Linked DNA regions of Homo sapiens: region 1 is linked to region 2. Evidence: promoter capture Hi-C in 16 types of primary human blood cells and fetal thymus (Javierre and others, 2016). All regions are on one chromosome and are shown on one strand. Each heading gives the region's core, a stretch centred on a gene start or on the middle of the fragment in contact. The rest is flanking DNA. Distances are from core to core; before and after follow the strand shown. Region 1 overlaps POLQ (DNA polymerase theta). Region 2 holds the start of ZNF148 (zinc finger protein 148).

What was found. Contacts are between HindIII fragments. The CHiCAGO score rates a contact against its expected background, and 5 or more counts as called.
Region 1: a contact is called between a fragment that was not itself captured here and the fragment with the promoter of ZNF148 in region 2, in 1 of 17 cell types (neutrophils). The highest score is 5.0, in neutrophils.

Annotation. Positions count from the first base shown.
Region 1 is chr3:121,538,492-121,542,031 of GRCh38, forward strand. POLQ (DNA polymerase theta) reads right to left here. Exons shown (of 30, transcript NM_199420.4): 3 at 2,858-2,988; 4 at 942-1,098. Among named protein-coding and RNA genes, the nearest start is that of POLQ, 5.7 kb to the right of the region's middle. The HindIII fragment of the contact is 2,647 bases long and covers 265-2,911 here.
Region 2 is chr3:125,373,354-125,376,888 of GRCh38, forward strand. It overlaps ZNF148 (zinc finger protein 148), which reads right to left and starts at 1,972. Exons shown (of 9, transcript NM_021964.3): 1 at 1,749-1,972. LOC105374080 (a long non-coding RNA gene) reads left to right here and starts at 2,073. Exons shown (of 3, transcript XR_924427.3): 1 at 2,073-3,535. RefSeq lists a silencer at 1,707-1,756 and enhancers at 1,867-2,136, 2,247-2,296. The HindIII fragment of the contact is 7,036 bases long and covers 1-3,535 here.

The DNA of each region.
Region 1 (3,540 bases), core at 338-2,837, 3.8 Mb before region 2:
CTAATGACACATGATGTTCTTTTTCCTATCAATAAGCTGTCTCCAAAATTGTACTGTCTGATGAGTTATTTTAGCACTTACTCATTCATTCACCAAAAAAAAAAAAAAAAAAGTATTCTGCCTGCCGTGTGCCAAGCACTGTGCTAGGTACATTGGAAATAGCACTTACTACGAGTCTATTGCAACTCTCAAATATTTAAAGTCCAATGGGGTCACAAGTAATAAGACAATTCTGATACAAATCAATTGCAATTTCTCTCTCCAAGCTTTATGGAGCATAGCCTATGTCTGATTCCCACCCTCCACCCCTACCCTACCATAACTTTACCATGGTATTTTTAAGTTCACCAGCTTCTCAATAATTAGCTGATATTCTTGCTACTTCTGCTGCTGCAATCCTTCTATTCCTGTTGCTACCTCTACATAATGGCCTTTCCATAATGGCAAAAAAATGCATTAAGATAGAAAATCTTCCCACAATCCCAAGCTCAAATAGAGTGTCAGTTTCTTTAGCTTCCTACCATTTCCATGCTAAATGACAGACTCTGGGTCCAAGCCCAAAATAGACATCATAGCAGCAGAATATAATAACAAAAACCCATATACACTAACCACAAAATGGCAGATCTGGCCCAGCAGGCCTCCTTCTATTCCTGGTAGAGTTTAGATAGGAAAGAAGCAAGGAGAAATTATTGAGGGCTCAAGGATATAATCTACGTTTTGTAAAGTACAAAAATGCAACGTAACGGAGTCAATAACAGCAGCAGGACACAAAACTTATAAACACAGCGTTCCTAACATTACAGATGCCAATCCTTGCCTCCAGAAGTAGATAATAGACAATAGGAAAACAAATGGGACCTAGAGAAATCACAACAGCTCCACTTCATTCCATCAAAAATAGCAATAGAAAGTATTTACTTATTTTCTAACTTTCTTACCTAACAGATCCATCTTATTTTCCTCTATGAGGCGATTGATCAGACCATTGGCTCTCTCAATTGTGCAGACTGCAATATCCAATGAAGAGAAATGCCTTGATGGAGAGGTGCTGCCCATATAACCGTCTACTTTTATTCCTACTTCCTGAAACAGACTCTGAATTGAGTAAAAAGGAACAATACAGGTGAAAAAACTTGAAATTCAAGAGTTATAAACTGGTTCTATCCCAGAACATAGACATAAGTATCTAAAGACATCTACCAGATTACTGTCATCAGTTGTTTCTGGCCAGGACACACTGGTTCTTTTTAGATCATATACTAAAAATATAAAGTTTAGAACTGACAAAACTGTTAAGAGTCAAATAAAATTATGCCATTTTAATGACAGCATAATAATCTAAAAACTTCTAAGAGCTATTTAGAGGAATTAAAATTGGAGAAAAACTACCTTAAGCACTAACATTTTTAATCTAATAAATAGCAAGAAACTAGCTATAACACTTAAAGAAACAAATTTATACTTCATGAGGAAAATAGTCTCATTATCCTACTAATGACCAATTTTTTAATGTAATTGGAAGAAAAGTTTTTAAAAGTCAAATTCAGTGGGACTTTAATAATAATTTTTTTTTTTTTAGTTTAACTTTTAACTAACATACCTTTCAATAAAAAGGATCCTTTCATCATTTCGTTACTTTGGGTCTAAGTTGAGTGATGTTACCATGTATGACCAGCTTTGTTGGCTACTGTGCCTCTGAAATAACTATTAAAAAGATTTATAGAACCATAGAAATTTAGAGCTATTCATTCAATAAAATTTTCCTGAGTGTTTACTAAGTTAACCCACAGGGCTAAGGGTTAACATCCTAATTTTACAAATAAAAAAACTGAGGCCCAGCCAGTTATATGCCCGGCCTAAAGACATAGTTAGTGGCAAAACTGGGACTAGAACCCACATTTCTTTAACAATCAGTATAACAATCTTTCCATTTCAAAAGCACATATTTTTCACTGCAGAAATCACAACAGTAAATTTATTCCATTTAATAAAATATTGTATTTGTGAAAATGCCCTAAAAACTGTGAGCATCATATTGATGTAAACTACTATTAGTCATTTTTGCAGAACAGAGGAACAGATCACATACCTGGAGCTTTACCTAAGCACCAATGGATCTTGACCTTCATCCCCTAAATATTCCTAAATAGTCCTCAATTAGGGCAGGATACACTTCCTTAAACACTCTTTCCTTTCTATGCTTCAGTCTAGTCCTACTGTTCAGTTAAATGCTGATTCTTAATGTGCGTGTTTATATGCTAGTTTAAATATTCTGTTTATTTCCTAAGAAAAGGTTTACAAATTTTTACACAATTTTCACCAATTATTCTTTTGATTTGATGGCCCCTTCTCCTTAATGCAATAATAATTTTCTTTTAATTTCCTTCTGTAAATTTTTTTAATTTTTTTTTTTTTGAGACAGAGTCTTACTCTGTTGCCCAGGCTGGAGTGCAATAGCGTGATCTCGGCTCACTGCAACCTCCACCTCCCAGGTTCAAGCCTCAGTCTCCCGAGTAGCTGGAATTACAGGTGTGCGCCACAACACCCAGCTAATTTTTGTATTTTTAGTAGAGATGGGGTTTCCCCATGTTGGCCAGGCTGGTCTCGATCTCCTGACCTCAGATGATCCGCCCACCTTGGCCTCCCAAAGTGCTGGGATTACAGGCGTGAGCTACCACACCCAGCCCCTTGCTGTAAATTTTTAATGCTTTTGGCAGTAGCCTCTTAAAGCTACATAGGGCACAATGAAGAAACTTTGTTTTCCACTTGCTTTTATAATTCTATTTCAAATGAATGAAACCAAGACTGCCAATAATGAGCCTTTCACTATTTCAAACTTAGTAAAAAACATTACCTGGAGGTAGTATTTCTTCTCTTTAGCCACAGAAACAAAGGGAAGAATAAACAAAGCTTTCTTCCGCATTTCCAAAACCCGCTTCAAAATAAGTAATTCTGCCACAAGAGTCTTCCCAGCACTTGTAGGAGCTAAAACATGATTATTCCACAAGATTATAAGAAAAAAGTAATATTCGGTACAATTCATTAATAAATGTTTTAAGCCATGTGTAGTACTACAGAGCCTAAGGCTAACCAATCACTAAGGGCCCAATAGCACTTAAAATCTTTATACCCTGAAATGCCCTTTACTTTAAACCACCTGTCTTAATAGTCTCAACTAAAAACAGAGTAAATAAATCTTTATATCAGCAATATGATGAATACTACTGAGTACCTAGTTTATACCTAAAGATCCTTTCCTTTAAGTACCAAATGGGTAAAAGGCCTGCTTTGAGGAAGTAGATGAACAATTTTATTATGATAGGAGCTATGATCGAAGTTGAAGAAAAGGGCTGGGCATGGTGGCTCATGCCTGTAATCCCAGCATTTTAGGAGGCCAAGGCCGGGGGATCACTTGAGGTCAGGAGTTTGAAACCATCCTGGACAACATGGTAAAACCCCATCTCTATTACTATAAAAATAACAAAAAAAAAAATAGCTGGGCGTGGTGGCGGGCACCTGTAATCCCAGTTACTCAGG
Region 2 (3,535 bases), core at 722-3,221:
GTGCTGGGATTACAGGTGTGAGCCACCGCGCCCAGCTGTATATAGTTTTTTCTTAATAAAAGGTGAATAATATCCGGGTAGTTTTTAAGAGTATGGTTCTAGCCCAGAGTTCCCTCTTGGAAATCTGGTCTGGTGTGAGCTCAGCAAATCCAGAGAGAGCTTGGTTCATTTCCTGACATAGAGATGCTAATCCTCCCTCCAACCTGGCTCTAGAGTCGTCCAGTCTCCTAGGTTCCCCTAGACCTTCTGATAACTAGTCCTGACCTCCTTGCAACCTAAAACCAAAACAGATATTCTAGCTCCTCCATTCTGCAGGCCCACACTTTGCTGGCTGATACGTTTTCTTCAATGCCATCATGCCTGAATGAGAGTATTCTCTCACTGGAGAACTCCCTCACAGTTCACTTCAGGAACTGTGAATGGCAGAAGATCTCCCACCAGCCACAGATTTATGGAACCAATCCAGCCAACTAATTTGAGCTACAAATGAAGTATCTAAAGAAGAGCCAGCAAGCATGTCTTCCCCCCGACCATTAATTATAATCTTGTGTACTGCAATCCAGGCTGAATAATACGGCACCAATTCTCCTGGACCAGATAAACTGGGCAGTGAAGAAAACCACCAAGTCAATTAATTTCCATTCCAGCGTTTGCCAGGATAGTATTTACCCAACCTCGGGTAAGTGTTAATACTTCAAATTTTCTAAAATCGAAGCTCCATAGCCTAAGGAATCCCCACAGGCCAGACCCTTTCTCAAGGTCTGCTTCAGAGGTTCTCATACTCATTGGTGCACGTCTAAAATGTCACAGACCAAACTACAGACTAAAATCTAATTCTCAGTGACCCCAACCACGGCCCAGACCCACACTTACCAGATGTCATCTACTGAACAGCCCACACAGGTTCGGAACTAGGCCATCCCGGCCCATCTGGAATAACTCTTCAGTACTTAGGCCAATATTTATTAATTATACTACATCTGTCTATTCTATTATGCATTCCCTGCATCTTCTCTACTATTTAGCACTCCCTCTTGCTTCAAACGCGATCCTTTCTATTCACGGGAACTCCTATCTCCCTTCTTTCCTTCCCTGAGAAACGCTTCAGTTCTTTCCATAATGAAATACCTAACGTATCTGCACAATGAACACCCCCCAGAATCCTCAAGACTCCTCCACAGCCACCTCCCCGCATTCCTCCACCTCTCCGGCATCTTTCCTCCGGCCCCTCGCCCTGTTCGCACTCCCACTACGTTTCCTGCAAGCATTCCCTTTTCTCCAACCCCTGCCCTTCCCTTCTCCCAAAGAGCACACTCCGGCAGCAACAGTGACTGAGGCCTGCGGTGCATAAAGCACTGCACCAGGCACGGTGGACAGAGCCCTGGTGTCTCCCTAGCCTTTTCACACCCACACCCAGCACCCTCCGGCCTCCCCGTGCAAACATCCCACCTCCTCCCCTACCTCTGACACCCGCCTCCAGCCTCGGAGGCCGCCTTCTCGCCTCCGCCACCCCCGTCATTATCCCTCCTCAACCCCCCAACCCACCCTCCGCGCCCTGCTTCCTCACGTCCCCCAGCCAGCCCCAGCGTTTCCCTCGGCCTCGGCTGGCCCCCTGGCCACCCCCAGCCTCGCCACGGCTCGCTCCCCCCGGGGTCAGGCCGTTACCGCCGCGCGCTCCCCCCGCGCGCCGCCCCCTCCCCCTCCCCCGCCCTCCCCCGGGCCCGGGCCTGCCAGGCCGAGCGCTTTACCGCGGGCGGGCGCCGAGTCGCGCGGTCACCGACTGCAGGCGGCGGCAGCTCCAACCTTTCTAGGGGCCTTGAGAGGAGGGGAAGGGGGGAGGGGGGAGAACTTTTGCTGTGGCAGCTTCGGCAACAGCTCCCACCCCTGCGCCTTTCTCCTCTTCCTCCCCCTCCTCCTCCTCCTCCTCTTCCTCCTTCTCTTCCTCCTCCCAGAGCAGTAGAGACGCAGACATGCCGCAGCTAGAGCGCCGCCGCGGTCGCCGCCACTGCCGGCCCGGTGCATTGTGGGAAGCCCCGCACACGGGAAGCGCTCCGCGGCGCCCGCCCTCGTCTGGCGCAGAGACCTGGCTGGAAAGACACAGCGTGGCTTCGATTCCGGCGCCTGCGTGTCACCAGCCCAGGGTGGCCGTGGAAGCTGGACCCGAGCCGCAGGCCCCCCAGGCTGGGCCTGGGAGGAAAGCGGTTTGAAAAAGATCGGAACTGAGGAACTCTCTTAGAGCGGGGGACTCCCTGCTCCTACAGCCTTAACCAATGCCCAGCGCTTGGAAAGTGGAGGACTCGGGGATTCGGGAGCGTTTCAGGCCTGGGGAAATGGAAGGGTCGGGGACCTAGGTGAAAGGTTATTTGCCAGAAATGTCTTGGCTTTTTCATTTATTCTGTCTTACCTAGCCCTTCGCCGCCACCTCCAGTCGTTGGCCTCTTACCACCTTCAAATGCCACCTTTTCCGGAAGATGTAGCCCTGCGCCCTTGAAACTGGCAAACCCTATTAGTGTCTGCAAGCTGAGATGCAGGGTGTGGGCATAGACACAGATCAAGAGATCCGGCCCTGGACCCTCTTGGGCAGAACCTTGCCCTTCTCATTTCACCTGAAGCCCAAACTTTGTATGGCAAAGACTTGGTAATGATCTCTATAGAGCTAGGATTACACAGTTGTCTCATCCTTTGGGGGCCCTTTAGCCAAACTGTGACCTCCTTAATGGTGCCTTCGTCAGCTAACATTAGGCGCCCTGAGGTGCTTCTGCATACTGCCATCGTTTACAATTACTCATCTTTGTGTACACACCCTAGCACAAGGTCAGCCATATAACATAAAAGATGCTCAGTGAATGTTGAGTAATTGTGAGCATCTGGAACTTGCCGTGGGATAAAACGCGTTCATTGGGATTTCTTCATAATAATATGAAGATTCCATTTAGCGCCTCTCTGCAATACTTAAACGTAACCTTTGAGGGGAGAGGGAAAAGAAAAGGCATGAAAATATCTATAGAGCCATTTCTGGTGTTCTCCTTCCCTTTTCCACACCCGCCTTCCCACCCCTTGCCAACTAAATGTTCATTTGAATAGTGCTTTTTGGCAAAATTCCAAACTCCTGCATTATGCACTTGTGATGACACTGAATTAGATTAGTGTCTGCAAGGTTAATGTTCCCTCAGGCATTAACCTTAGTAAATCGTGATGCCTGTTTAGAAATAGCTAAGGCCCAGAGGTTCAGCTTAATTTAGACACAGGTAACTAAGAGCAAGAGTAAACCACAGCTCCACAATCAACTCTCTCTGTGTGCTTTCTCCATTAAAAAATATAAATTTTAATAAGATGACCGCACATATTCTGAATGTTAATTGCAACAAAACAATGACACAAGTTAGAGCCAAGGGACAGTTATCTGGAGGACAGCCTTCTGGCAACTTCTAGCACCCGCAGTGGCATCAAATTCAGACGTCATAATGAAAAACACCTCTGGCAGCAAGAAAGCCGACTCTCAGTATTAGGCAGTGGGAAAACTAATAACTGAAAA